Regions from separate parts of the Homo sapiens genome. Here regions 2 and 3 are each linked to region 1. The links are contacts of gene promoters, found by promoter capture Hi-C in human tissues and cell types (Jung and others, 2019). All regions are on one chromosome and are shown on one strand. The core of a region is centred on a gene start or on the middle of the fragment in contact, and the rest is flanking DNA. Distances in the headings are between cores, read along the strand shown.

Region 1 (3,212 bases), core at 279-2,778:
TGTGAGGGTTCAGTAAGAGACCTCTTAAAAGTCCTATGAACATCTTGTTTTCTAATCTGTTCTACTCTCTTCTCTCTCATCTCAAGTCTTTAAATCTGGATAATGGCATGGGGATAGCAGACTAAGGGTTGGGATGGCTGCTGGAAACACAGGAGATCTATCTAATCACCCATTTTGTTAAAACTTTTCTGTCTTACATCTGGACCAGGACTTCTGAAATTGAAAGGCTTGGAGTTAACATCTTTGTACGCCATTGTGCCATGAAGCAATGATGATTCCCATCCAGCTGCCTAAAGAGAAAGAGGTTTGTGTCAAACATTCTGATGGGAGAGATTCTTTAAAATGTTCTTTGTGAACCATGAAAGCATTACTTTCTCATGTCCTACCATGAATTTACACAACTGATGCAAAAATCTAATAACAAAGGTTGAGTAGCATTTTCCAAACAACAGTGAGCTGGGAGCAAGGAAGCTGGCTTCTGATATCAGCTTCACCCACAACTGTCTGTGCATTAAACTAGTCACAATGTTTCTCTAGGCCTCAATTTCCTCACCAGTAGAACAAAAGAGTAAGATTTGATAACTACTATGGTCCCTTCCAGACTTAAAGTTTCCAGACATAAAGGTCCTTTACAGACTTAAATCTGTAGTTTAAAGTTGAGTCATCTCTGGCACCTACAACCTAACCCTTTGCCATCTATACTGGAAAAGAAAATCTTGTTACTCTTTTCAAATAGCCTATTTTTCAGTAGAACTGTATTTTGGCAAACACCTATATTTGGAGTCAGAAGGACAAGGTTCAGTGTCCAGGTCCACTGCTGACCAGTGTTGTGAACCTCGGAAGGTTTCTAATCTCTCTTAAGGTTGGGTTTCTTGAGTGTGTAATGGGGATATGTGTCCTATGCTGCTCACAAGGATTTTGTTGGCATCTTATTTGATGACTTCACTGAAAACCCGTTATTGTAACACACTCTGTTGATGTAAGCTATTTTGACATGATCATCCATGTTCTGCGGGAGAAGCTCAAATAGTAGATCTCTGAGGAAACTCACGCATGTTGAAGGAGTGGAGTCGGTGCTTTAGGAAGGAAAATCTGTGTGTGGGTCTCAAGTCTCACCGCATGGGTCATAACCTATTCCTGACCCTGACAGAAAATCCTTCTAGAAATAAAAGAGAAATAAAGGAAATCCACCATACCAAGGCATAAAAAGACAGCCATGAAAAAGTAACATAAGGGGAGAGGAAGATGGGCTTATAACAGATTACAGGATGTTGTCAGTTTTAATAACGTGATGTGAAGAAAAGATTCTGTTTGCACACAGGGAGAGGTTCTTTTCCTGGCTAGTCAAAGCACACCTTACGTACATTCTGAAGCCGTCTCTTATATGATTCATTTTTTTCACTGTAGATAAGACTTTTATGGATGGATTGTTTTTCTCAAATAATATTATCGCTTTGTGACTAAAGTAAAGATTATTAATTCCTGAGGCAAGAAGATATAAAAGCTCCAGAAACGTTGACTGGGACCACTGGAGACACTGAAGAAGGCAGGGGCCCTTAGAGTCTTGGTTGCCAAACAGGTAATCCTCCTCGCGGTTGATGATGGGGGACTTTCTTTAAACATCTGTTTTCCTCTGTCAGCTATTAGCCAGGCCAGAAATGACAAATTGTATTTCTAGTGAGGCTTGTCAGGCTTTCTGTTGCTGTGTTGTTTGATTTAAATTATTTACCTTCTTTTCTTCCTTCACTGCAAAGAGCATTGGCTTTGGTGTCAAGCTGTTGGGTTAAATCTTGGCTCTGCAGTCTGGTAGCTGGGAAACTTTAGAAAAGTTACTCAATCATAAGTGTCAGTGTCTTCATTTGTAACATGCATTCATGAGATCTACAGTGCAGGTTTTTTGTTTTTGTTTCTGTTTTTGTTTTTGTTTTTGTTTTTTTATGGAGTCTTGCTCTGTCTCCCAGGCTGGAGAGCAATGGTGCAATCTTGGCTCACTGCAACTTCTGCCTCCCAGGTTCAAGTGATTCTCCTGCCTCAGCCTCCTGAGTAGCTGTGATTACAGGCACTTGCCACCACGCCCAGCTAATTTTTGTATTTTTTAATAGAGACAGGGTTGTGCCATGTTGGCCAGGCTGGTCTTGAACTCCTGACCTCAGGTGATCCACCTGCCTCAGCCTCTCAAAGTGCTGGGATTTCAGCCATGAGCCACCACACCCGGCCCAGTGCAGCTTACTTATGAACATGACATGCAGACATTCAATGAATATCAGTTCACTAAAAATTATTCACAGATTAGTAAAAAAGATGCTGCCTCTCCCTTCCCCCAGATGGTCACCTTGACAGAGAAATTCTGTTTGCGTTTTAAAGGGGTTTGAGGACATTGAAAATACACTATTACTTTTGGAAGGAAAGTTTAGCAAAGTGCAAGGTTCACGCAATGATTTAAAAAGAAGTAAGGGGTGGGGAAGGTCACATCCACACTCTCCAAGCTTTGTCTCATTCTCAGTTAATGTTGCCTTAAAGTGTTCAGATGGACCCCAGAATTGATTTTCCAGAAAAGTCATCATTTACATTATTCTCTTTAAGCAATCCATTATTTGAGAGTTAGATTGTATATTCAGATTTTTTAATCATAAAGTATGATTAAATGTGAATTCAATGAATTAACTCATTTTAAGAATTATTTGGGAGGGAAATCCAGAACTCAGTTTCATACTTATGTTAAAACAAAGCCCAGACAGATGAAAATAGAACAGTGATAAATATTTTAACCTTATGTGACAGTAATGGCCAGTCTTTTGATATAAATTTAAAAATTATTTTTAAAAACATAAAAAATAACAATATTTTTGAAAATTTCAGAATGGCAAAAATTATAATAAGTAAGAGAAAAATACAAACTGAGAAATACTATTAGTAACACGTGAAAGGCAATAAACATACAAAAAAGATCTCACAAATAAACATACAAAAAAGATCTCACAAACAATGAAATAGAAAAATGTGCAAAACTGTAAAATGAAAATTCACCAAATACTAAAAGCAAATCATTATATAAAAAGATGTTCAACTTCATTAGTAATTATAAAATATTTTAAAACACTAAGGTTCTTCTTTAATATACCAAAATTAGCCAAAAACTTGACAAAATTAAGCATTCTCTGGGAGCTTAGGGAACCAATCCTTTTAGTGCCCTATTAATGAGGTAAATATCA
Region 2 (3,212 bases), core at 228-2,727, 210 kb after region 1:
CAAAACTAAAAGAGCAAGACTAAAAGAGCACCATGTAACACACACCCACTGAGGCTTCAGGAGCTGTAAACATTCACCCCAGACACTGCTATGGTGTCGGAGTCCCACAGCCTGCCTGTCTCTATGCTCCCACAGAGGTTTGAGCAGTGAGGCATTGAAGAAGCAAGCCACACCCTCATTGCATGCCTGGTGAGGGGGATGAGGGAATTTTTCCCATTTCATTATCATAAGCCTACGCACAAGGTGACTTGTGTGTAGCACAATGATGACTATGGTGGCACCTGGAAGGTTTGATTCTGTCCCATAGAGGGATATCAAGAGTCTGAAGTTGGAATTTAGTTGACTTTTGATTGAAGCCACTATAGAAAGAGTGTCCACAGCCTTTGGAGTCACACAGGGGTGAGTTTAAAGTCTAACTCTCCTATTTACTTACTTACCTGGGGGGGCCTTGGACAAGTTACTTGCCATCTGTAGCACTGGTTTCCTCATGTAAAAAACTGAAGATAGCAGCTTTGAACTCCCCCAGTTGGTAGTGATCAGCAAAGACACTTGGTCCAGAGCATAGCAGGTGTTCAGTGGAGAGACTTCTTTTCCCTTCCTGTCCTTCTTTGTGATCCTTAATTCCCCACCTTGCTTCATCTCCTCCCCAGGCTACTGTACGTTTCACATTGATGTTCATGATGGACTCTCTGTGAGTGACACCGATGATGTCTATGATGGAGGTGGTGTGGATGATGACCGACATGTCCTGGCAGGCTCTCTTCAGGCATGACTCATCCAGAATGTCTCCTTCCAGCACCGTCAGCTTGGTCTTGTTCTGGAGCTCTGTGTGAACACCGGTCAGGTTATCAGAACGATTTCTGAAACGATTTCTGAAACTGATAAAGATGTTGTTACATAGATGTTCGAGGATGGCTAGAGTCAGGGTGTTGGAGTGGAGGGTGTACATTCCATGGAAGGAACAAGTAAACAGGGACACAGAAGTCAGAATATGTAGCAATTTATTGGGAAAGAGCAAACATCTGTTTCTACCCCATCTCATTTAAGAAAAGTAATCTGAGCAATGAGCTGTCAGGTGTGCTTGGAATATAAGCATTTCTAGAGTCATGGGAGACTCACTAAAATATTTAAAGAGAGTAAGGTGACTGTGGAGAGTTGGGTATAAGAGGGAAAATTTGAATTTAATTCTGCTGGTGATGCGGGATCATGATTTTGGGTCTCCAGCACCATGTCAAAGAAAATCCCTTATTTATATTTGGAATAAGTAGAGAAACAGGCAGAGCATGGTGGCTGACACCTGTAATTCCAGCACTTTGGGAGGCTGAGGTGGGCAGATTGCTTGCACCCAGGAGGTCAAGACCAGCCTGGACAGCCTCGTGAAACCCCGTCTCTACTAAAAACACAAAAATTAGCCAGGCGTAGTGGTGCTTGCCCATAGTCCCAGCTGTTCGGGAGGCTGAAGCAGGAGGATGAATGGGGCCCAGGAGGTGAAGGTGGCAGTGAGCAGAGATCATACCTCTGCACTCCAGCCTTGGTGGCACAGCCAAACCCTGTTAATAAAAAAAGAGAGACAGAGAAACAGAAGCAGAATTGTAATGTAGGAAGTCAACATTGGCTTGAGGATATAAAATGGACTGGTATAGGGGATATGAGAAAGTAAGGTAATTAAGATATTAATCAGAGTATCTGTGCCAAAGTTTCGATGAGGACTGGAAGCAGGGTCCAGCAGTGGAAGCAGAGCAGGGGAGAGATAAAACAGGTTTGAATTTCAGACCTTACCTTGAAGGTCCTGATACCTACTGGATCTGGGCTGAGAGAAAAAGAAGACAAAATCACCCCTATGGTTTCCTCCTTGGGCAATTGGGAGGAGAGTGGAGCCATTACTAGGGAATTGCTGATGGGCTTAAATGAGGAATTTCCATGAAAAACTCATCAGATTTGAAAAGCAGATAGCAATGCTGAAAGTTAGCGACCAATGAACTGATATTCCAGCTGTCTAGCTGAGGGCAGTGGTTAAAACTTTAATGTCTTCACGCTCCTCTGAAATCCACAAGAAGTGATGCTGCCAGTAAAGTTGTCACCTGGAATTAGCCCACGCAATGAACACTGTGGTACATGAAGCTTGGATAAATACACTACACTTGTTTGTGCTTTATAATCTGCATATGACTCACAGCTTGCTTATTTCCTTTTACAGCAATCTCATGAGATAGGTTTTCTGAGTCCCACTTTACTGGTGAGGAAACTGAGGTTCAGAGAGGTTAAGGGACAGATCAAAGGTCGCGTTTCTAGTAGAGGCTCAAACTTGCCCACTCCACCTCCAAGCCTCGTACCCTGCACACCAGGTACAGGACTGGCTGTTTAGAATAAACTTTTCTGAGAAAGAGTAAGAATAAGCCAGTTCAACTGAAATTGGCAACAAAGGCCAAAGAACAGTGAGAGTAAAATTCAGAGCGAAAAATTCAAGACCGGAGCAATTCCTTCCTGGGATACAGGCGGGACCACTTCCTCTCCTAATGCCTCTGCCATGTTTTGTCTACTCCCAGCCCCTTCCTATTGCCAGGCAACTCCAAGAAGGCCATGCTATGGGGGAGGCAGGGAAGAGGCTGCTGGGGAGGACATGGGTGACAGCCTGAGAGTGGAATTTTCTCTGGTTGTATTTCCACCTCTGCACTTCCTGCTCCCTTCCTCTGCTTCCCCTTTGCTGCCAACTTCAGACAGACTGGCTCAAAGGAATTGCCATTTCAAAGCTGAAGAAGTCTAAAGCCAAGAGAAAAGGCTTTTCCTTAATGAGTTCACAGGGATCTAGAGACCAGGAAAGGGGACTTTGTGGATGGAGCCATAGCTCCCTCATTCCCCAAGCTGCTAGGTGAACTACTGCTTAAGAGCACAGATGCCGCACTAGACTGTCTGGGTTCAAATCCAGCTTTGCCATATTCTAACTCTGAGACTTTCAACGAGTTAATTAACCTCTCTATGTCTGTCTCCTAATCTGTGAGAAAGGAGGATAATAATATTAACAATCTCATAGGGTTGCTATGAGTAACAAATGAGTCAGCACATGCAAAACATGTAGCACAGTGCCTGGCACAGAAAGAACACTGAAAGGATTCTCTGTTTTTATCTTTATACAGGCTACTGCCCATCCATTATATCCCCTACCTTTTCACCATAGGAGAACTATTCCTCTAGGCTGAGCGTTGCTTTTTTTC
Region 3 (3,212 bases), core at 522-3,021, 130 kb after region 1:
TGGCACAGAGAAGCTGTGATAGTATTTTAAAAAATGTATTTGGTCTTCATCCTGGGTTCCTGGCACAGAGCTCCTAAAACCCTTTGAATTTCCTGAGTGATAGGATTATCTTTTGTTATTCATAATGAGCCCTGTTAGATCACACTGAAACTTATGTTAACAAGGTAACTTGAGATGGGGTCCCTAGATAGCTTCAGAATAGGATGGTCACTAAAAAGACCAAGTGATTGGAGGGTTGGAACTTTCAGCCCCACCCTCTGACCTGTTGAGCTCTATAAACTCTTGAACAATAGATTCAGAGAGCTACTGGGTGCTGGGAGGTGACACACCCAGAGAGGCCATTGAAGCTCTGTGCCACCCTCACCCTACTCCCCCATACCTTGCCCTCTGCGTCTCTTCCATTTGGCTGTTCCTGAGTTGTATCCTTTATAATAAGTCAGTAAATGTAAGTAAACTGTTTTTCTGAGTTCTGTGAGCTCTTATATCAAATTATTGAACTTGAGGAGGGGATCTTGGGAATCCTTGATTTATAGCTGGTAGGTCAGAAGCATGGGTGGCCTGGCCCAGATGAGACTGACATTTGAAGTCAGTGCAGTCTTATAGGACTGAGCCCTTAATCTGTGTCTGCACTAACTCCAGATAGTGTCATAATTGAATTTTTGATACCTGTTACAGGTAGTTAGGCGTGAGTGGGGCAGGAGAGGGCTCTCCCCCACCCACCAGGAATGGCAGGTGACGGTTTGATGATTATCACGTTGCCTCTCTAAAAGCGATAAATTGGCAGCCAGCCTCCAGAGAGAGGCCATTTCTTGATGGTCCATACCCATTGCACTGAAGTGTTGATTGACAGCAGACACCAGAGAGGCAATTTCCCAGGCCTGCGCATTAAGAGACAAAATGGTGGAGTATGACCTTCTGGTGGCACTCCACCAGAAAAGGGAAGAAAGTCTCAGATGGGCATGCATACAACTTCCTAAACACACTGCATGTGCTCAATTCCCAAGGGTAAGGAGGGCACTGTGCATGCAGGCAACACACCCTAAGGGAAGAATCATGGAAAGGGGGCGCAAGACGCCAGAGTTTGCCAGCCTATAAAGTCCTAGGATGATGGTTAAACCAGGCACTTGACCTTCTCAGTGCCCACTTGCGTCCCTTCCGAAAGCACTTTCCTTTCCTGCTCTAAAGCTTTTTAATAAACTTCCACTCCTACAATGAAACTTGCCTCAGTCTTTTTTCTGCCTTATGCCCCTCAGTTGAATTCTTTCTTCTGAGGAGGCAAGAATTGAGGTTGCTGCAGACACATATGAATTTGCCACCGATAACCAGGATATCTTCCACTGGTAACATACCCAGTTGATGTCAGAGAATTGATGAGCATCAGAAACCACCCCAGAGAAGCTATACATGGTAAGGGCCCTAAATTCCCAAGGGAGCATAAACAGGGTGTCTTAGAGTTTTGGTTCAGTTCTACTGGAAGGCGTGATGTACTGAGAAAGAGCTTAGGGTCAACCAGCCACCTTCAAATTAAATGAGACCTACAGGCTCTGAGCAGTTGCCTTGCCCCTCACTGATACAGCAGGAGTTCTTACCTGGGGTTCAGGTATGCCTAAGGGTCTATGCACAGACTTTGGGAAATTGTTTGCTTATGAGTGCTTTTTTCTTGAGGGAAGGCTGAGTTGCTTAGATCAGATTCTCACAAGACCTTGTGACTGACAACTCTAGAAACTTTCCCACAACTGTCAGCAAGGCAAAGTTAATGGGCTAAACATTTTACATATATATAAGTATGTGTACATCGGGGTTGAATGTAGACCCCAATGTATTAAATCCCTCATAATTATAGCTTCAACACAATCCATATTCACAATATAGTATATAATACATTAGGATGTACATTCAAACCTGTTCTTTTTAAAGCCCAACTGGCAATGTGATTCACTAGCTTCAGCATGTGGTGCTTGGTTGGAATGAGCTTAATCAGTTTGATAGCATCATAGACTTTAAGTTAATGAAAACAGAAAGTTTGGAAAAAGACAACACCGTGGGGGAATGATCAGAATGCAGAGGTCGATCTAGTTTTGATGCATAAAACAAAACATGCTGCAGAGATTTGTAGCAGAAAGAGGCACAGGAAATAGCTGTATTCAGGTGACTTTCGGGTGGGAGTGGGGGCTGCTCTGGTAGATACCTTACCTAAAGAGAAGTCTTGTTCTTTTTCCTAAACAGAAACTGATTAACCTGAAACTTCGAAGAAAGAACACTCCTGACCTTGTGGTTCTTGCTGACCTAGGATCAGCAGTTGACCTTATTTAAAAATTAGCCATGTAGAAATGTGGGCAGAGGTTAGAGTCACAGTGTGTCAGAAACGTTGGGAAGAAGCTTAGAAATCTTCTTTTTTTAATTTTTTAATTTTTTTATTCTTGAGACAGAGTCTCATTCTATCACTTACACTGGAGTGCAGTGCCAAGAATATGGCTCATTGAAGCCCCAACCTTCTGGGTTAAGCAATCCTCTCACTTCAGCCTCCCAAGTAGCTGGGACCGCAGACCCACGCCACTACACTCAGCTAATTTTTTAAATTTTGTAGAGACGGGGTCTTGCTATGTTGCTCAGGCTGGTCTCCAAGTCCTGGGCTCAAGTGATCCTCCTACTTTGGCCTCCCAAGGTGCTGGGATTACAGGCATTAGCCACTACACTCAGTCCAGAGAGCCTCTTTGATGGGTTACTAATTGTTGGCCATAAACACAAGTGCTTTTTGGCCCATGGAGTGTTTCAAAAGTAATTGGAGCCAATATTGGCTCCAAACTAAGGGATTTCACAAGATAATAAAGATTTCTATTTCTTTTGAAAAGACTGAAAACATTGCAACACTGGCCTCTAGTGCCCACTTGGGACCACTCAGTGACAGCAGTCCCCCTTAGAAGGTGATGAGTTTGCAGACTATCCTGGGGCCCACTCTTAGGAGACTAGGGATTGTGTTATTGGGGAATTGAGAGGAGCAGAGCTGAAAGACAGGAAAGAGGCCGGGCGCAGTGGCTCACGCCTGTAATCCCAGCACTCTGGGAGGCCGAGGCGGGCGGATCACAAGGTCAGGAGATCAAGACCATCCTAGCTAACACAGTGAAACCCCGTCTCTACTAAAAATATAAAAAATTAGCCGGGCGTGGTGGCGGGCGCCTGTAGTCCCAGCTACTCGGGAGGCTGAGGCAGGA

The links. The method cuts DNA at HindIII sites, captures the fragments that hold promoters and counts their contacts. A contact is called where the count stands out against the background at its distance.
Region 2: a contact is called between a fragment that was not itself captured here and the fragment with the promoter of REG4 in region 1, in 1 of the 25 tissues and cell types used here (liver).
Region 3: a fragment that was not itself captured here is called in contact with the fragment with the promoter of REG4 in region 1 in 1 of the 25 tissues and cell types used here (adrenal gland).

What each region holds. Positions count from the first base shown.
Region 1 is chr1:119,809,776-119,812,987 of GRCh38, reverse strand. It overlaps REG4 (regenerating family member 4), which reads left to right and starts at 1,528. Exons shown (of 6, transcript NM_032044.4): 1 at 1,528-1,579. The HindIII fragment of the contact is 6,627 bases long and covers 1-3,151 here.
Region 2 is chr1:119,602,827-119,606,038 of GRCh38, reverse strand. It overlaps the pseudogene HSD3BP5. Among named protein-coding and RNA genes, the nearest start is that of LINC00622, 5.1 kb to the right of the region's middle. RefSeq lists an enhancer at 127-1,326. The HindIII fragment of the contact is 3,391 bases long and covers 1-3,172 here.
Region 3 is chr1:119,676,434-119,679,645 of GRCh38, reverse strand. No RefSeq gene overlaps it. Among named protein-coding and RNA genes, the nearest start is that of ZNF697, 30 kb to the right of the region's middle. RefSeq lists an enhancer at 1-411. The HindIII fragment of the contact is 5,689 bases long and covers 1-3,212 here.